Regions from separate parts of the Homo sapiens genome. Here all the other regions are linked to region 2. The links are contacts of gene promoters, found by promoter capture Hi-C in blood cells and fetal thymus (Javierre and others, 2016). All regions are on one chromosome and are shown on one strand. Each heading gives the region's core, a stretch centred on a gene start or on the middle of the fragment in contact. The rest is flanking DNA. Distances are from core to core; before and after follow the strand shown.

Region 1 (2,700 bases), core at 184-2,683, 7.0 Mb before region 2:
TTATAATTGTCTGATACTTTGATTTACCAGAATGAACACTTCTATAAGTAGGACTGGATCGAACTTGTTCACAATTGGAATCTTGGTGCAAATCCTAGTTCTAAGGGATACAAAGCACAAAATATTTGCGAAATAGAACAAGCTTTCAGACTTCATACTGGCATGTATCTTTGCCTTATGCCAAAGATGTGACGATGTGACTAAATACGGAAGTTTTGTTTTGCTATTGAGCCAAGGTCTTGCTCTGTCATTCAGGCTGGAGCGCAGTGGTGCAATCATAGCTCAGTGTAACCTCCAACTCCCGGGCTCAAGCGATCCTCCCAGCTCAGCCTCCCTAATAGCTGGGATTACAGGCAGGCACCACCGCACCCAATTAATTTTTAATTTGTGTGTGTGTGTGTGTGTGTAGAGACAGGGTTTCAGTAGTTGCCTCCCAAAGTTCTGGGATTACAGGCATGAGCTACCATGCAGGACCTGTTTTGTTTTAATACTTAGTAATTGGGTGTAAAGTCCTTCAAAAAACAGGTGGGGCAGGTGGGAAACTCCCTTTGTGTGACCCTCTAGCACCAGGGATAAAATTTCAACTTCATCTTAAAGCGACAACATACTTTTCCAAGACCAAGTGCGAAATAGTAAAGGGAAGAGCTAGCTCCGTAGCCGTCCGCCACAGAATGCCACAAGCTTTCAATTATGGGACAAAATTGGAACACATGGAAACCCTGTGCAGACTCCCGTGACATCTTCCCTCCTCTCCAAGTCCCTTCCCACAGACCTTGCGCCCCACACGATTATTCCCCAGGGGCCGAGCAGGACGACTTGGGTCCCACTATCCGGACTCAGCGGTGCCCCCACAAAAGCGTCCCAAAAACTCCAGCTGGGGCAGCCCTGGGGCAGATGCTGAAAAGTTGTCAGAGGCCCTCGGGCAGTCCCGAGATCTACCCCAGGCCAGAGGGCCTGACCCTCCCTAAATGCGACGTTCTCCTACCTTGGTTGATACTCACGTTCCCAGAAAAGGGTGGAACCTAGGCTGGACGAGGCGCAGGGCCAAAGTTTAATTCCTCTAAGCTCCACCCAGCTCCCAGCACCTCTCCAGGCGGCCCCGTGGGGTAGGGCGGAGCCGGGTCCAACGTACTCCGCTTCCCCCGCTCCACCCACCCAGGGCTAGGGAGCGCCCCGAGAGTTGGCCTCCTCCCACGCTGCGCGCGCACCTCCCCGCCCCCACCCCTACCCGCTGGCGTGCCCAGTGGAACGGAGCCTTGTGTCTCCGCCTCAAGTCCCCGGATGCTCACCTCCCCGACTCGCCCCCGCTGTGGCCCCGCCCCCGCGCGGCTCTTCGTGCCACGTCACCGCCTGCGTCGCTTCCGGAGGCGCAGCGGGCGATGACGTAGAGGGACGTGCCCTCTATATGAGGTTGGGGAGCGGCTGAGTCGGCCTTTTCCGCCCGCTCCCCCCTCCCCCCGAGCGCCGCTCCGGCTGCACCGCGCTCGCTCCGAGTTTCAGGCTCGTGCTAAGCTAGCGCCGTCGTCGTCTCCCTTCAGTCGCCATCATGATTATCTACCGGGACCTCATCAGCCGTGAGTCCTCACTGCACTATCCTTACTGCCGCACACGGGGGTCTGGGGTGCGGGTGGGGGCGGGGAAGGCGCAGCCGTCGCGGGCCTAGGGGACGCCGGCGGTCTTAGCCGAGCGCGGAGGGGTCGGTGCCCGGGGCTCGCGCCCAGCTCTGGTGTGCTACGGAGGGGCAGATCCCGCGTGCGGCCGCCGGCGCGGGAAATGCGGGAAATGGCGGCGCCAGGCGCACGGTGATGGGCGGCTCTGTGTATCCGGCAGACGATGAGATGTTCTCCGACATCTACAAGATCCGGGAGATCGCGGACGGGTTGTGCCTGGAGGTGGAGGGGAAGGTGAGTCGGTCGGGCCTGCGCGTGGGGGAGTCCGGGCCGAGCGGGCTCGGGTTTCCTCCGCTCCCCCGCCTGAGGTTGTGCAATCCTCCCCGCCGCCTCCTGGCGGAGGAGACGCTCTTTCCGGGCTTGGGTTTTTCTAGAAAACTGGAGGCGGAGCTGATCCTGGAAATAGGCCCGCCGCCTCGGCGCCCATCCTCCTCCCGGGGTTGTCCGGGACATGATGCTTCCGGCTTAGGAGCCTGGAGTCCTTTCGTGTTTGTCCTGTCCCCACTTACCAACCGGAGGCATCACATGCCCGCAACTGGAAACAACTTTTTAATGACCCCATTTTTTGTTCCGGCCAACAGACAACTCTTTTAAGTTAGGTCGTTTTGAGAAATCCACGGGTCACAACTTTATTCCCAAAATGGTGCTTTTTTTATTTTCAGCAAGAACTAAGAATACTTCTTATCCGTGAACTATTGGCGTGGAAGGTGCTTTGGATGCGTTTGTGTCTTTTGCAATTATACTGCTTTTTCTTAATGCAGATGGTCAGTAGGACAGAAGGTAACATTGATGACTCGCTCATTGGTGGAAATGCCTCCGCTGAAGGCCCCGAGGGCGAAGGTACCGAAAGCACAGTAATCACTGGTGTCGATATTGTCATGAACCATCACCTGCAGGAAACAAGTTTCACAAAAGAAGCCTACAAGAAGTACATCAAAGATTACATGAAATCGTAAGTGATACTGGCAGTACCTAGCTGATGTCTAGAATCTTACAGGATTTAAAGATTGGCTAACTTTTGAGGTTCTTT
Region 2 (2,700 bases), core at 53-2,552:
AAAGGTGGACCAATGGACTCTTAACTATATAAGGAGTAAGGTAAGGAATAGAAGTGGGGATAGCTACAGATAAAAAATCACTGTGATTAATGGATTAAATGAAACGTTGTAGATGAGAAATTATAGTAAATCATGTAGGAGAGAATGTATTTATCCATAAGAGTGCCTGTAAACGACATCTCAGAGATGGAGCAATTATTGGAATCTTAAGGTTCTAGGCTGCAACCATGAACACCTGAGATAAAGTGTAACAGGGATATTTTGGAGATGAAAAGATCAAGGGAGGAAAAGGCTGAGAGGTTGTACGGATCATGGATTGGTAAATCATTGAAATTTATCAGTCAGCTAGGTAGGCCAAGGTACTAATTAATTATGCAAAAAATTCTATTGTAATCCTGTTCTTTGCTACATTTCATGCTACTTCCAACTGCAATAACCTCAAGAGTGTTTACTTAAAATCTATCACTCAACTGCGAAGGATAAGTAAAGGCCCCACATGGATAAACTATCCCCTATCTGCATTTCCCATTCCTACCAAATACTCTATTAAATCCCAGCATAGGAAGGGTGTGATCTGAGTCTCATTACTTTGTGATGCCCGACTGCTGAGTTACTCATACACAACGAAACTCAGAAGCCGCGGAATAACAAATGTTCAAGTAATTTCAAAGTCTTGACTATCAAGATGGAATGTCTTCCTTAACTTCCTCAACCAGCTGGCCAAAGCGGTGAAACGCTTTTCTAATATCCAGCAGATGGGGACTGTTTAAGAATCCCAACAAATTACCAGAACCTGGTCCACCTGTCCTCCCGCGCCACCTGCCCACCAAATGAATTCCGAGGGGAGGTCACTAATCAGAAACACACCCACACCCTCGTGACGGGGCCAAGCTGCCAAGCTGACACTTAGCGAGCAAGTACGGACCTCTCCTCGCAGGCTCCGGTGGGAAAGGCTCCTGGAAGGGCGCGAGCCAGGAAAGTAGATGAAGTGAAGAGATGAAGACTGCGTGGGGTAGTTGTTGGAAAAGCTCGGATCATCCCCAACCCAGCCCCGTCTTGTCCGGCCCCAAAAGGCCCATCTCGGCCGAGCTACTCACACTTTGTACGGCAGCCGTGGGTCCGACGTCAGCGTGATCTTAAAGGAAACCTTCGACCTGAGGAAAAGAGCGGGAGAGAGTCAGGGTCGGGCAGCTGGACCAGGAATTATGGCAGTCGGTAAGCAAACACTTACATGGTGGTGCCGGAATGAATCCAGAACACACGACAACTCCGCGGGGGTAGCACGACTTCCTCTAGTGTGCTGGGGACCGCCCCGCTCCACTCACGTCCACGTCTCCCTCTGCAATCTGGGGACCTCCGAAGTTGTTGCTATCCAACGCACTGCCTGAAAATTGGCCCTAAGAGCTCATGCTAGATGGCGCTTTTAAATTACAAATATCTTGTGCTTTTGCGTTTATATATCTAAGAAAAAAGTATGGATTATATTTATAAGATATCTTTCTAACTTTGGTAATTTGCTACCATATTTTTAGTCAGGCAGAATAAGCGTGGGCATAGAGCGTAGGACCCTAGGTTCCAGTTGGCAGGTTGGGGCGGAAGTAAGGGTATGGGGTAGTCGGATGAAGAGCGAGATGGACTTGGGGCGAAGCTCGGGGCGAGGCCGGGGGCGGGGCTGGGGCGGACGCGCTCTAAAGTTTCTAAGGCAACCTGAGCGCGGAAAAGCTTAATTGGTGCTCCAGAAGCAGGAATTGTAACACTGCTTTATCATTAGTTTTCTTCCGTCTTTCCAGCAAACCAATCCTGTTATATCCTTTACATTTCTCATAGTTTCTCCTTCACGCTTTACTTTCCGATACTGATTTATAACTATTGAATTTCGGTTAAGTAAGAGAGCTATCAAGTACGAATTATCTATGCCAAGACTCCCGCTGGGGTGGGTGAGAAAAAATGAGGTTTCTACGTTTGGGGAACGTGGCGTCTAGTTGGGAAGACACATCTATGAACAGGAGATTTCAGTAATTTGTTATATGGTCTAATTAAACCAGTGCGCTGAGTTGCTAATCACTGACCACATTTATTCAATTTAACAACCAACTTTGAACCCTTTCTATTTGCCCGGCGCTAAGCTAAACTCTGGGGAATCCAAGATGAGTAAGGCAGGTAGGCGTCAACTCTCTAGGATCTAACATCCTGTGTAGTGATGACGGAAGAAAATTGTCCTCTAAACTTTATTACAGATCTAAACCTCTGTGTTTGGAAAATATGCGTCTGTCTCACAATGACTGAAATGCCCTTTTAAAACATTAGCATGAATAGACAAAGGAGGAAGCAGGTAGGCATTAAAATAATGGGGCAATCTAGTTGATCTTTAGAATATGCATCAGATTCTTAAGGAGAGATACTTAAGAGAGGAACCAGGAAGGAACTGTAGTAGGGATAATGGAGATCAAATTCATCTTTACAATAATTTTGCAGCCAACTGATCTTCTATGGTGACATTTCCCAGTGGAGAGAGTTCTGGTTCTGAGTAGGCAAGTAAGACTCCAACATTCTCATGACAGCCATCCTCACTTTTTAAAATAATGGTCTTACCATATATGTAGATGAAGCCAAATATTGATTGACAGATACAGGGATCAACAGTTACAGCCTTAATAGCTGAAACTATTCAATTAGTGGGTGTGACTAAAACTTGTGAGA
Region 3 (2,700 bases), core at 84-2,583, 7.7 Mb before region 2:
ATGAATTCAGTTCTTTTGACGTCCATTTGGGAACATGCCGTAATTGCAAAAAGTACAGAGCCTTAGACTAGCAAATCTATTCTAGGGAAGAATATTCTAAAGAGACAAAGAAGCAATTATGTATAAACAAGGGTACTCATTGTAAAGTTGTTTATATTAGTTAAAAACTGAAAAAAATCTAAAGGTATACAAACAAATAAACATTTAAATCAAACAATTCCCAGTTTGTAAATTAATTTGAAACGTCTGTATTTCAACAATTTCTTTCTTCTTCTTTTAGACCTAGCTCCTGGAGGTGGGGACGATTGGATCTATGATTTGGGCATCAAATATTCGTTTACAATTGAACTTCGAGATACGGGCACATACGGATTCTTGCTGCCGGAGCGTTACATCAAACCCACCTGTAGAGAAGCTTTTGCCGCTGTCTCTAAAATAGCTTGGCATGTCATTAGGAATGTTTAATGCCCCTGATTTTATCATTCTGCTTCCGTATTTTAATTTACTGATTCCAGCAAGACCAAATCATTGTATCAAATTATTTTTAAGTTTTATCCGTAGTTTTGATAAAAGATTTTCCTATTCCTTGGTTCTGTCAGAGAACCTAATAAGTGCTACTTTGCCATTAAGGCAGACTAGGGTTCATGTCTTTTTACCCTTTAAAAAAAATTGTAAAAGTCTAGTTACCTACTTTTTCTTTGATTTTCGACGTTTGACTAGCCATCTCAAGCAAGTTTCGACGTTTGACTAGCCATCTCAAGCAAGTTTAATCAATGATCATCTCACGCTGATCATTGGATCCTACTCAACAAAAGGAAGGGTGGTCAGAAGTACATTAAAGATTTCTGCTCCAAATTTTCAATAAATTTCTGCTTGTGCCTTTAGAAATACAACCATGCATTCCGTTTGCTCCACGGTAATTAGGCGATGGCCCAGAAAGGGGAGGGGTGTCAAAAACGACAAACATAGCCTCTCATTCCAGCTCAGCTGCTCAATAAACACTGTTGAACGAATGAATGAGTGGCTCTAGGTACTGTCAACAAATGCCGCATTTTGCGCATTTACAACAGCTGTTTATGGTAAGGAATTATGTAATAAAAAGAGAAAACTCACTTAAATTCACTTTTAATTGGGAATTTTAGTTCTCCCGGGCTCCCAGTTTCCTTTCCTAGGATCTCTCACAGAGCACAGATTCGATTTCCAAGTCCCGCCGCACTCTTACCGCTCGCATGGAACCTTACGCCTAGAGGGCGTGTCCACGAAGGGTGGTGTCTGCGCACTGACGACTAATCTGACGGCCGGAAGCTGCCTGGGTCTACAGAGGAACAGGGCAAACCTCTGACTTCCGGCGGCATTTTGAGGCGGTCCTCCTAGCGGCCTGGTAGTGTTTTTGTTGCCTTTTCTTAATCTACAATCTCTTCGTTATTTTTCTTCCTGCGACCCAGTTTCGCTTGACCCTGGAGAGGCGGCGGGCGGGTTGGTTCTGCTTCTCAGCCATCCCGGGGGCTCCTCGCTAGCCAAGAGCCGGTTCCCGGGAGCCGCGCGCGCATCGCTTTCTCCTCGTCGTCGTCCTCCTGGGTCCAGGCGCGGGGACAGAGTCGCCTCCCCCGCTCCTCGGAGCGGCGGCGGCGGTGGTGCCTCCGGACTGCACTTGCGAAGGGAGCTTGGGGAGGAAGTAAGCGTTCTGTGAATTGGTGTGGGTATCTGGGGAAGGCATTGAGCGGACCCGTAATGCGGAGGCCCGGGTTACCCCCCCCCGTCTTTGCTTGAGTCACTGGGATTTTGAGCTTTCCTTGAGCATCCCACCCTTAACTCTGCAATAGCCCCCTGTGCTCAGGCGTAATTTCTCACTCTGATTATGATTCTGGCATTTGTCTAAGGGCGATAAGTAGACTCAGACAATAGGCTGTACCCCTCGTTACCATTTGATGTAAGCACGGGAACCCTTGTATGGTGTTCGTATTTGTGTGCGATGGAAGGGTGCAGCAATTTGGGCTTAAATTTAGAATCTTCCTCTATACTCATTCCAGATCTGTTAGAGAAAAACATCTTACTTGTGATTGGTCTTGTTTTTTTTTTTTTCCCTCAGCAGTGATAACGATTTAGGTCCTGGGAATTGAGTGCTACTTTATCTTCACAAGCCTTAGGTAGGTAGTTTTGGCAACTGTCAGAAACGGGGGAAAGTGGAATAGAAAGAAGAGAGTCTGTTTGGCGGCATTATCTCTCTGTAATAGGCTAACGCAATTTATGTGGTTTGAAAATTATTTAGAGTTGATAATACTTGAATTATGTTGGTAAGATGTTGTTTGTGAAGGGTAGTCTTAAGGTATTTGGTTATACTATGGGGCTTTCAGGTAATTCGAACTACTTTGAAAATTATGGGAGTATGAAGTCTCTTAAGATTTTTGGATTTTTAAAGTAGTTTTAAAAATTTGGAAAACATCTTTACACCTCAAGTTTTCGAAGTCCGCGATACCGTTGGAGAATAAATACTTATGCAGTTCAGTCTATGGGTATATGGTGCCAGTTAGCGGGGTCTAGTTCTGTAACATTTGAAATTACTGGCTTTAGTACAATATATTGGAGCGTTTTGTGAATACAATCTATAGATTTTCAAATAATTTTTATTTTCTTAATGAACTATTTAGATTATAACAGATGACAGTTTCAACTAGAGACTAGCAAAGTTGATGCAAGCTT
Region 4 (2,700 bases), core at 183-2,682, 7.2 Mb after region 2:
GCCTAGTATACTCCTGAACACTGTCCTCAATTCAAGGAGAAACTGAAATGCCAACTTTTCTTATTACAAACACTTTCCAGAGACCTGTAGTTCACAGTTTAAAGTCAAACACACTCTACATGCAGTTAATCCTCATTTCATCCAGTCAGTCACCTTCTCTGCCCCAACTGGCCTCCAGATTCATTTCTGTGGGCTGCTCACCCTCTGCTGGTCTCAGCGCAGCCCTCTGACAATATTTAGCAGCTTGGTCTCAATTACCAGGGAGATTGAGCAACTGAAGGCTGAAGGCCCCACGGGATAGGAGAGCCTCTTAGGGCTGGACTCACCACCTAAGGCTGCTTTCAGACCCCTCCAGGGCCACTTTACCAGAGGCAGGTTAGTGATCTGCTCTGTGTGAGATCAGACGTGAGGACTGTCCCACCCAGAATCCTGAAGCCTCACCCCATCCCATCTCCATACCTTTTTTTTTTTTTTTTTGACAAGGAGTCTCACTCTGTCGCCCAGGCTGGAGTGCAGTGGCACGATCTCGGCTCAGTGCAAGCTCTGCCTCCTGGGTTCGCGCCATTCTCCTGCCTCAGCCTCCCAAGCAGCTGGGACCACAGGCGCCCACCACCACACCTGGCTTTTTTTTTTTTTTTTTGTATTTTTAGTAGAGATGGAGTTTCACCATGTTAGCCAGGATGGTTTCGATCTCCTGATCTCGTGATCCGCCCACCTTGGCCTCCCAAAGTGCTGGGATTACAGGCGTGAGCCATCGCGCCCAGCTAACTTGCTCTCCTAATAGAACAAAAATTGTGCCCCATTCACCAGGGCTTACTTGTCAGAGATTTTGTGGCTTAGGCTCTGCTTTAAATAAGAAATTATTTAAAGCACTTTGTCCTGTTTTCTCACATTGCCTGCGTCCCCACCCACCACCTCTGTGGCTCCCAGTCTGCTGAGGACAGTGCCCCTTCCCCTTCACTTTTCCTCCCCGTTTGATCAAGCAAGGGTTTTGGTCATTAATACCCGGCCCTACCATTTACTGGTTGTCCTCAGGGAAGTTATTTAATCCAACTGAGCCTTACTTTCATTTGCAGAATGGGGATGATAATAGAAGGTACCTATCTAAGAGGAACCTTGGGAGGTGATGTAAGACATTCATGGCACCCAGCACTGTGCTGAGGTGCTCAGTAAGTGAAAATCCCTTCTCGCCAGCTGTCATGGGCGTTATTTTTTCTGCCTGCCTGGCATGTCTGTGAGGCACCATCCCTGCCCATTCTGCAGTAATGCTGGGGGCCTGGTGGTTTGATTCTCCATCATCCTCACCAGTAGCTTGGGCAGATAGCTCTGCACAGTGACTTCAGGTACCAGGTCACACTCACTGGCTCTTCTCTTCCCTTCTTCTACTTTTTTTTTTTTTTTGAGACATAGTCTCCCTCTGTAGCCCAGGCTGAAGTGCAGTGGCACAATCTTGGCTCACTGCAACCTCCACCTCCCAGGTTCAAGTGATTCTTCTGCCTCAGCCTCCCAAGTAGCTCGGATTACAGGCATGCACCACCATGCCCAGCTAATTTTTGTGTTTTTAGCAGATGGGGTTTCACCATGTTGGCCAGGCTGGTCTTGAACTCCTGACCTCAAGTGATCTGCCACCTCGGCCTCCCAAAGTGCTGGGATTACAGGCATGAGCCACCATGCCCAGTCTCTTTGTGACTTTCTTACGGTAAGAACTATGTTACTCTGGAGCTGCAAGGTCTGCCTTTGCCCCTACATAAGGAAGGCCCATCTGAGAAGGGAAGCAACGCAGAGCAGAGTTTAGCTGAGAGATGGGCAGAGAGAAAGTCCTGAGGATGTCACTTGAGCTCCTGGATATGGCTGAGCCTAAACTAGATGCCCCCTAAAACTTCCAAATTATGTGGATCAGTAAATTCCCATTTTTGTTTTGTTGGTTGGCTGATTTTTTTGTTGTTGTTGCCTGCAACTGCAAAAATCCAAACTAATATACTGTTTTTCCCTGCCCTGGTTCGTAACTTTGACAGCTTGTGTAAGATTTTCATGAGTCTCTGGCTCCCCTGGGTGGCAAAGAGAATAAATTCACATTTCTAGGAGTCCCACTCTCTGCACTAGCATGCTCCTTTCTACAGTTTATTTATGTTTCGACTCCCCTAGTCTCAAACATACTTGTGTGTAATCTTAGCCCACAGATGTTTTGGCAGAAATTTCTTTTTCATGGTTATACTGCTTTTCTAGCTGTGGTGGTTCTGGGTCTGCAGTCGGTCAAATCTCATCCCTGGTCCTGCTTGGGGTGGCCATTGAATTGGGTTTGAGTCAGTGGTACAGTGAGTGGCCCAAGTTGGGGGGCAGTGGGTCACCCTCTTCTAGGAGCAGTCAGCGACACAAAACACCATCTTGGTATTATTAGAAGGTTGTACCAACCAGCTATAGGAACAAGCCCCAGTGCCAACATGATTTTAAAAGTCCTAGCCAGAGGAATTAGGCTCATCCAGATTATTCTGTCTGAGGAAGAACTGACTAGTTAGAAAAAAATTACAAGTCGATAGGTGTTTTCATGATGTAAGAATCTATTTAAGAACATGAAGGTGTGGCCATATTCGTTTTATTTTGTCATGATGAATATCCTGGGGAGCCATTGCTACTGCAAAAAGGTCCCTGGAACACTTACCAATCTTTTAGTACTCAGAGACTACCTGGAAACACGTCTTT
Region 5 (2,700 bases), core at 88-2,587, 8.4 Mb before region 2:
TCACAGTTTTTAAAATACTAAATAAAAATGACTAACAATTCCACGTAGGCCGTATTAGGCTGCAGATGAGCTGTTGGTAGGGATCCGTTGACCAGTAAATTAAGTGGATTAAAACCCTAGGCTTTCATGCAGGATTGATCGTAGTGGGATGTATTAGGAAGAAAGGAAGAGGCTAAGTTTTAATTTCTTATATATAATTAGGATGATGGCAGTGGGAATTCAAAAAGAAGGTAACTTTGAGGCATCTCAAATGTAGATTAGGCAAGACAGGCATGAGTCTGAAAAAGAGAGGCAATGAAAAGAGGAATGGTTTGAAGGTGAGATGCAGAAGCTTAATTTTAGGTGTGGTAAGTTTTAATAGCTGGTGACATGTCTTGGTAGAAGAGTCCAGCAAGAAATGTCATTATGGGTACTAATGCTTGAGAAAGATTGGTTATAGAGATGCAGATTTAGATTATTTCACCCAGAAAATGTAGTTGAAATTTAGGGAATGAGGTTTAGGGAAAGAGTGTGAAGAAAAAAGAAAAGGGAGGTGGGAGGAGACAGAGTGAAAGGGAAGAAGCCAGATCCTGAGTTTTCACTGAGAAGAGGATTTGAACAACACAGTGGTGGTCAACAGCAGTTATTGGAACTGTAGATTGTTGGTTTTGGGAACACCTGTCTAGGTTGTTAAGAGCCAGTGGAATAGGACATCCTGGAAATGAAGAAACATCAAAATCCAAGGAATCTGAGAGAATGGGAACAAAAAAACACATGTAGAGATTTATGGAAAACTTGAGACACAGGGGAAGAAGGATAAAAATAGAACTCAGATTTCTGGAGGTGGATGACATTTAACTTTAATAAGTAAAGGGCCCTGTCTCTACAAAAAATTAAAAAAAAAAATATTCCAGTGTGGTACGCACCTGTAGTCCTAGCTGCTCAGGAGGCTGAGGTAGGAGAACACTTGAAGCTTGGAGTTCTAGGTTACACTGAGTCATGATTATGCAACTGTACTACAACCTGGGCCACACAGCCAAGACCCCATCTCCAAAAAATAAAAAATAAAGGGAAGAACAGTAAGGTTTGACCTTTAGGGGAATGGATGTATTATGCACTGAGAGACCCTTTCTTCTCCAAAGAATGTTGATGTTCACTAACATTTGGGAAAAATTGTGTAACTCCCACTGGCACTGTGAAATTGTTTTTCTGTTTTTGTTGTTGTTGTTGTTGTTGTTGTTTTTTGGAGGGGAAGGAGGAAGGGTGTTGTTTGGTTTTTTGGTATTCCACCCTACTCTGTCACCCTATTTCTCCCACAAAATCTGTTCTAGAACCTAAATATATATTTGTTCTAGAGCCTAAATGAAATCTACCAGATAAGTGACATGATATATACTATGTAAGTTTCCATATATATTTTTCTTACTGAATATCAGTCACTTCATCGTTCATAAGCCCACTTTTCTTATACATCCTTTCTAGTCACCCTAGTAGTAGTCCTTCAGTCCTCATCTCTTCCCTTCTTTCTCCCCATGTTACAAGTTCGACTTACAACTGAGCCAGATAGATCCATCTTCCTCTACTTACCTAGTCCCCACTCTTATTTTCTTCACTCAGGAGTTGACTACATCTCATGCTTCGAAATTACACTTGAAAACTTTGTTTATTGATTTAAAAAGATAAAAAACTTTCATAGTACTTTTACTTCAGCAGATGGTTTTGACCAAGTACCAACAAGCTTTATGGCAAAATAGGTATTAAGGTGGCCTGTGGCAAATAATTAGATTATGGGCAATTAAGGTAATTAAGTGGTGATGTGGTATCCCATCAGGGTGTACAGTCATTTACCTCAAAAGAAGAAAACATCTCTATTGAGAATGCATATGCATATAAAAGCTCTGTATAACCTTTGCTGTGAAAAGTATATCCCATTTGTAAACCATTGGTGTTTTTTTCAGAATCGCCTACCATTTGGTGCAAGCAAAAAGCAATCAGCAATTGGACAGGTAAACTTGTTTTATTGTTTATATGTTACTCTGAACATTGAATGAAAATACCACTAATAGCTTGTTTTAAAACGTGCTATTTTTCACATAGAAAAATTCTATTGAAAAATATAACCACCTATTATAATGTATCAGATATCATAGTATATCACAGTATGTCATATCTAGTTCTTAGTTTATGTCATATTTCTTGTTAAGCCTAACATATTTTTTTGATTTGTAATTAAAGATAGTTTCTAAAATGGTGGGTAGAAAAAATACTTTAAAAGCTTTGTTTTTTAAAAAATATTCTACCAACTTTTAAAAAGTGTTTTAATCTTGTTTCTTCTGGCCAAATGAAAAGCATTTGATTTTGAATTTTAAGAGCAGAGAAAACTGACAACTTGAGGTTTATTAAAATAGACGAATAGCAAAGATACAGACTCCTATGTACCAGATACGTGCTCAGTGTACCATCTTTTGCAAAGTGGATATAGTCCTTTCTAAGTTTAAGAAAATCTGGTTTCCTTGTGGAATAATGGAGCAAATAAATTTTATTTGTTGGTCTCATATATATGTATTAATATATTAAAATTAGTATCTCTCTCTATAAGTTCATTATTTAAGATAGGATTGTTAACAGTAGCTAAAGTTAATATTCAGTAACTAATAACATCTCATGGGAGTTTATTGTTTAAGAATTAATCTTTTATAGATTAAAAGCATAAAACTGAGC
Region 6 (2,700 bases), core at 16-2,515, 8.2 Mb before region 2:
ACCCAAACTGTGTGGGCGGTGAGCAAAAGGCACGGAAGGAAGAGGGCCGATCGCTTCCGAAGCGGCAGCCGACTGGGATTCACTACAAGCCCGGCGGCTCTTTTCCCGCACAAGCGCAGGGAGAGGAAACTTGGGCACCTCACAGGCGGCACCGAGTTGCCCGATCGCTCGGCGATGTCGCCGAGGGGGCTCGCGGCACTGCGCCGATGCCCCTGGCTCGGCCGAGGGCGTGCCACCTTTGTCTGGGTTTCCCCACCAGGATGGGCTACGCCTCGATGCAAAGACGGCTTGAACTGGTTGGAGGCGCCGACGCCGCTGTCCGCGCTGGAGTTCCCAGCCCTGCGCGGGGCCCAGGAAGCCGACACAGCCGCCTGAAACCTCCCACTTACACTGCGCGCACGCGGCGCGCCTGCAAGTCCCAGCCCCGCGGTTACTTCCCTGGCGCGGCAGCCACAGGGTGGAGAGCCGGAGACCCCTCGCTCTCAGGCGCAGAGGCCCGGCGCACCCCTGCCCTCCTGGCACTGCATCGCCGGACCAGGCAGGGCCCCCGTGCCCTCTCCAGGGCCCGCTTCTTCCGCGCCCACGCGAGTCCCTTCTTCGGGAGACAACGGGCCGATGGACCCTCCCTCCCCCAGCAAGACAAGATCTCCGACTGTCCACCGCGTTAGGGAACGCACGACAGACACCCAGACAGCACCCACACCCCTGCCCGCCCCTCGGCCCTCACTCACCTGCCTGCACCGTGTCCGAGAGGTCGTGCCCGGGGGCTGCGGTACGGGGAAATTCCTTCAATTTCCTGGCGCTCAGGTTCAGCCCCCCGGAGTTGGCCGCCTCCTCAAGCGCGCGCTCCAGACCCCGGTTCAAGGGCAGGTTGAAGCCCCCGCTGCCACCGCCGCCACCACCCGCCCCGCCGGGGGCGCCGGTTCCTCCGTGGTGCTGATGGTGGTGGTGGTGGTGGTGGGGATGATGAAGTGGGTGCAGAGTAGCTACCGAAAGGGCCGGGACGAAAGGTTGGGGTTCGCTTCCCGGCGTCGCCATCTTCTCCCGGGCCCCCCCACCCCGCCCCGCCGCTCCTGCGGGGGGGTCACAGCGTTCCCCGCGAGGGGAAAACGGCAGCTCGGGCTGAGTGCCGCAGTGCTCCACCGAAAGGCGCTGGAAGGAGGGGAGGAGGGTGTGGGCAGGCGCGTAGAATGGGGGGCGGGCGGGGAGGCGGCCGTGGCAGCTCGGTCTTGAAGGTTTCCTGTCCCCGGGAAGCTAAGGACTGCGGCGGCGGCGGCGGCGGCGGCAGCGCGCATGTGTCTCCTCCCGCCCCTGCGCCCTCCCCCCGGCTGCTCTGCCCTCCTCCGCCGTCTGCTCTCTCCTCCTCCTTCCCCCACGCAGTCTGCCCCGCCTGAGCCTTCCTCCGCGCCTATTCTGCCGGCCGCCGCCGCCTTGCCGCGATCCGCCCCGCAATCGGGTACACGGCGGGGCTGGACGTCTGCTCCGGGGCAACTGAGGCGCCGAACCTCTCTCTGGGCGTCCTTTTGCCGCCCAGGAGGCTTTAGGGGACTGGAGGTTGCGGGGATAGGGGGGTGGTCTGAGAACACGGATAAAACGGCGGGAGGCAATGAATGGGATTTACAGTACAGTGAGGTTTGGGGCAGGAGAGGGTTCTCTCAATTCTGCGATTTATTCTGGCCGTTTAACCCAGAGATCCCCAAGAGGCAGTTTTCATTCACTATGGGGTCATCCCTGCAGATGCCCCCTGGCATTTGGGCGCTTACAATGAACCAGACGCTTGTTTAGGGAGTCTACGTAAGTTACCTCATTAATCCAGGGACCCCAGGAGTGCCAAAGTTGTTCCCCTGAGTCTACAGAGGAAGTTAATAAATGTATCTAAGGTCACCCCTGCAGTTAGAGGGGCGCTAGATTCGAGCTAGGGCCCTCAGAATCTAGGGTTGCCCTCCTTCACAGTGTACCCCTGGGCCAGACGCCAGCGCCAAGGGACGAATACGAGTGGGACAGAGTGTTTGCTGAGCGGCAGAAGAAAGCTACAGACATAGGAAAGAAAAACTCAAAATGAGGGCAGTGTTTATGGGGGACAGAAGACATTGTCGTAGGAGAAAGATGAGCTGGCTGCTCCCCGAAATTGGGTGGTGCCAGGAGAGGCTAGAAAGCCAGTGACCCCAAACAGCAAATCAGTCACAGCTCGAGTCTGAGCTGAAAGAACCATCGAAGTCTCCTTGTGCCCTTCTTCTTCCCGCTTTGGGGCATGGAAACGAACATGTCCGCTTGCAAGTGAATTCACATTCTGCCATCAGCCACCCAGTGGCACCCAGGCCAATGCTGGCACACCAGGGGCGACAGAGAACATCTGACACCCTAAGGGCAGACCAGCTGGACGATTAATAGAATACCATTCCTTTCCTGAAGTTAAAGCTTCATGTCCAACTTTCCAGGGCCTTTATTTTTGCTCTATTCTTAAGGCTTGATTGTCCCCTATGAGCGACTTGGCTTGGGGAAAATGAGTCGGGGGGTGGGTGCGGGGTTGTCGGGGTGTCAAGCACGAAAGTAATGCAACCCTTGGAGTAGGGGAGCTGGTTTTTTAAGTGGTAATACATAAGTTTGATGGCCTAGACAACAGGCTGGAACTGGTGACTTCATGGACTCGGCACTTAAGTATGGCATGATCTGTGTCACTTGAATTGACTGCACAGATAG
Region 7 (2,700 bases), core at 94-2,593, 7.1 Mb after region 2:
ATTTCAAAAAATTGTGTAAGTACTTAATGCCATAGAACTATACACTTAAAATTCATTATACTTAATAAACTGTATGTTATGTACATTGAACCACATAAAACTGTTTTTAAAAACCTGGTCCTCCTCCTTCAGTGCCCAAGTTAGTAAACAGCACTACTACCCATGGTGGATGTGACAGAAATGTATGACTCATCCTTTCCCCCACCCTTTCTCCCAGCACACTGAACCTAATCAGTCCCAGAGTCTGAGAGATTATTAATCATCTCTCACAACCTGTGTCCAGCAGCCTCCTCACAGTTCCCTATATCCACAATGGCCCCCTCCAACTCCTGCTCCATCAGACAGCCAGAGTGAGTTTCAGGAAACGGCAGCCATATCACATACTGCCCCACTACAGCCCTTCAAACACTTCCCTCTGCTCTAAGGATGACCCCAAAATATGTCCCCTGATCTGCAAGGCCCTACCCAACCTGGCCCCTAATGATCTTGCCAGCCCTTCAGTCCTCCGTCCTTTCTCCACTTGGCTCCTTCACCACCAAGCTCTGCCACCCACTTACCTGATTTCTGCTTCCCTTTCGGGTCTGAGCTCTAACGTCACATCCTCTAGGAAGCCTTCCTTGACCCTTACCCCACAGTTTCTCAAGCTTGCCACTGTTGGCATTTTGGATCCGATAATTAATTGTTCGATGGTGGGGTGGAACTGTCCTGTGCCTTTGTAGGATGTTCAGCAGCACCCCTGACTCTAGATGTCAGTAGCACCCTCTGCCAAACCAGCCCCTGGGATAACCAAAAAGTATCCAGACAGCAACAAACGTTCCCTGGGGTGCAAGATGGCTCCCTGTTGAGATCCATCTCCCCAGTCTAGGCAAAAGCCATCTATCTCCCTGCAGCATGTTCTCACAGCATCCTGAACATCTCTTCCACAGCATTTGGCACAGACACGATTCATTCTGTAGTCATTACTGCTTAACATCACCTTGCCTTTCGGGCTGCAAGCTCCCCAAGGGTAGAGACAGACTAGATCTGTCTTGTTCCTGCAATATCACGATGCCTGACACACAGTAGGTACCCACATTACTCTGAATAAATGAGAGGCTTTGGGCAGTTTTTCTTTTTAACACTATTTTTAAATTGACATTCTTCTAGTAGTTCAAGTCAACGCCTACGTTAAATCAGGTTTCTTTGGGAGTTGCTTAGTGACTAGAACTTTGAAATCATGGTAGTAAGGAAGAACTTCCTCAATAGGTCTGATGAACCCTTGAAACTCACAACTTTTCCTTTATCATGGAAAAGATGAGATTAACCTATGGGGACTCCCATATATTGTTCTTAAGAAGTAATCTGTGCAAAGCCAAAGATGGATCACACATAATGCTACAAGAGGAAAAACAGAACATTTGCAAATTTTCTCTAAGTAGTACCTTTATGCCTAAAAATTATGCTTGCTTGCTTGCTTCATAATGAGTCTAGTAAAACACACCAAAAAAACCTGGCTCCAAAAGAGCCAATTATAAGGAAGTGCTCAAATACCGAGCCCACAATGTTTGTCCCGCAGGAAGTTACCAAAGGGGTCAAAGCACCTCCTTCGAATTCACACTGCTATTTGAAACAGATGCTCTCCCTCCCTCCCACTGGCTTAGCTGTTGGCTACTGGCAAACTCCCCTGGGTCAAGTCCATGACCTGGGGAGCCATGCCAACTCGGAGGTCCTGGACTACCTGGATGACAAAGAATCCATCCAGAAGATTAAAATCTGTGCCAGTAATATCTGCATACTGCTTAAGAAATAAAGAGAAGGTTTTAAGAATCAAAAAACACAAAACAACCTGGAATTAGGTCTGACTCTTGGTGTCCTAAAATTTCTGACTCATTGCAATGAAAGGAATCTGGGCAAGACCTGGCTCAGAATGAAAAACCATCCCCAATTTTGGCAGGTGCTAAGAAATACAAAGTTGGCTCACACAGGGAAGTGACAGACAGGCATGTGAAAAATAAAAGCTAATACCTATTATTTTATCAATATCATTGGTTCGAATAAGCTTCTTCTATCAATTAGGATTAGGTTTGGCAATAGGATTAGGTTTGGCTGCATATAATCTCATGCAATACAAGTCTGCAAACAGGAAATGCAGAGCTGACATGATGCTCCACATCCATCTGGCATCCAGGCTTCTTCTATCTTTCTCTTCTACCATCCTTACTACTGGCTTCCATCTTCAAGGTCACCTCATGGTCACAAGATGGCCACCATGGCTCCATCCCTCAGATCCACTTAATAGGCAATGGGAAGGAGGATAACACAGAGCAAAAAGGCCTGCATCCCAGCTGAGTCAGCCACCTTGAATGAGCTTTACCAGGAGCCCCACCAAACAATCTCTAAAGATATCTCTGTAGAGCACTAGCTGCCCCTATATGCAAAGGCCACTGAGAAATGTCTCACAGTGCTGCTGCCACCGCTGCCACCACCACCCCACCATCCTTCCCCCCAACCCAGATTATATTAGTTTTGTTAGGAAAACAAGGGCTAAAGGGTTACTTCGCAGGTGGCTGTCAATCTCTGCTACAACGGGATCAGTATGTTAAAACTGTAAGAGGTGGCAAAGTGCTAGTATTCTATCCAGTCCATTCGCCCTGTTCATATGAGAAAACTGAAGCTCAAAGCCACTAAAAGCCACACAGCTAACAAATGGTAACCTGGAGG

Evidence for each region. The method cuts DNA at HindIII sites, captures the fragments that hold promoters and counts their contacts. A CHiCAGO score of 5 or more calls a contact.
Region 1: the fragment with the promoter of TPT1 here is called in contact with the fragment with the promoter of UFM1 in region 2 in 1 of 17 cell types (total CD8 T cells); the score reaches 5.8 in total CD8 T cells.
Region 3: a contact is called between the fragment with the promoter of ZC3H13 here and the fragment with the promoter of UFM1 in region 2, in 1 of 17 cell types (non-activated CD4 T cells). The highest score is 5.4, in non-activated CD4 T cells.
Region 4: a contact is called between a fragment that was not itself captured here and the fragment with the promoter of UFM1 in region 2, in 1 of 17 cell types (total CD4 T cells). The highest score is 5.1, in total CD4 T cells.
Region 5: a fragment that was not itself captured here is called in contact with the fragment with the promoter of UFM1 in region 2 in 1 of 17 cell types (total CD8 T cells); the score reaches 8.3 in total CD8 T cells.
Region 6: a contact is called between the fragment with the promoter of LRCH1 here and the fragment with the promoter of UFM1 in region 2, in 1 of 17 cell types (non-activated CD4 T cells). The highest score is 5.5, in non-activated CD4 T cells.
Region 7: a contact is called between a fragment that was not itself captured here and the fragment with the promoter of UFM1 in region 2, in 1 of 17 cell types (non-activated CD4 T cells). The highest score is 6.8, in non-activated CD4 T cells.

Annotation. Positions count from the first base shown.
Region 1 is chr13:45,339,916-45,342,615 of GRCh38, reverse strand. It overlaps TPT1 (tumor protein, translationally-controlled 1), which reads left to right and starts at 1,433. Exons shown (of 6, transcript NM_003295.4): 1 at 1,433-1,574; 2 at 1,831-1,904; 3 at 2,432-2,622. The coding sequence starts at 1,547. TPT1-AS1 (TPT1 antisense RNA 1) reads right to left here and starts at 1,271. Exons shown (of 11, transcript NR_024458.1): 1 at 1,229-1,271. It overlaps LOC124903169 (a long non-coding RNA gene), which reads right to left and starts at 1,182. Exons shown (of 2, transcript XR_007063781.1): 1 at 986-1,182. RefSeq lists silencers at 1,057-1,256, 1,417-1,526, 1,607-1,676 and an enhancer at 1,574-2,363. The HindIII fragment of the contact is 2,255 bases long and covers 684-2,700 here.
Region 2 is chr13:38,348,453-38,351,152 of GRCh38, reverse strand. It overlaps UFM1 (ubiquitin fold modifier 1), which reads right to left and starts at 1,302. Exons shown (of 6, transcript NM_016617.4): 1 at 1,232-1,302; 2 at 1,098-1,154. The coding sequence starts at 1,233. RefSeq lists silencers at 751-965, 1,663-1,772 and an enhancer at 1,343-1,552. The HindIII fragment of the contact is 2,541 bases long and covers 1-1,724 here.
Region 3 is chr13:46,051,379-46,054,078 of GRCh38, reverse strand. ZC3H13 (zinc finger CCCH-type containing 13) reads left to right here and starts at 1,333. Exons shown (of 19, transcript NM_001330564.2): 1 at 1,333-1,675. CPB2 (carboxypeptidase B2) reads left to right here. Exons shown (of 11, transcript NM_001872.5): 11 at 281-893. The coding sequence ends at 465. It overlaps CPB2-AS1 (CPB2 antisense RNA 1), which reads right to left and starts at 1,231. Exons shown (of 3, transcript NR_046227.1): 1 at 1,114-1,231. RefSeq lists enhancers at 1,168-1,367, 1,378-1,547, 1,077-1,612, 1,613-2,149. The HindIII fragment of the contact is 2,282 bases long and covers 418-2,699 here.
Region 4 is chr13:31,173,593-31,176,292 of GRCh38, reverse strand. No RefSeq gene overlaps it. Among named protein-coding and RNA genes, the nearest start is that of HSPH1, 13 kb to the right of the region's middle. The HindIII fragment of the contact is 3,215 bases long and covers 1-2,700 here.
Region 5 is chr13:46,792,682-46,795,381 of GRCh38, reverse strand. ESD (esterase D) reads left to right here. Exons shown (of 10, transcript NM_001984.2): 2 at 1,938-1,985. Among named protein-coding and RNA genes, the nearest start is that of ESD, 3.1 kb to the left of the region's middle. The HindIII fragment of the contact is 765 bases long and covers 955-1,719 here.
Region 6 is chr13:46,551,735-46,554,434 of GRCh38, reverse strand. LRCH1 (leucine rich repeats and calponin homology domain containing 1) reads right to left here and starts at 1,265. Exons shown (of 20, transcript NM_001164211.2): 1 at 732-1,265. The coding sequence starts at 1,038. RefSeq lists enhancers at 132-451, 108-808 and silencers at 1,012-1,071, 1,132-1,321. The HindIII fragment of the contact is 3,547 bases long and covers 1-2,420 here.
Region 7 is chr13:31,202,345-31,205,044 of GRCh38, reverse strand. All of the region lies in intron 1 of B3GLCT (beta 3-glucosyltransferase), which reads right to left. Among named protein-coding and RNA genes, the nearest start is that of B3GLCT, 3.7 kb to the right of the region's middle. The HindIII fragment of the contact is 1,394 bases long and covers 647-2,040 here.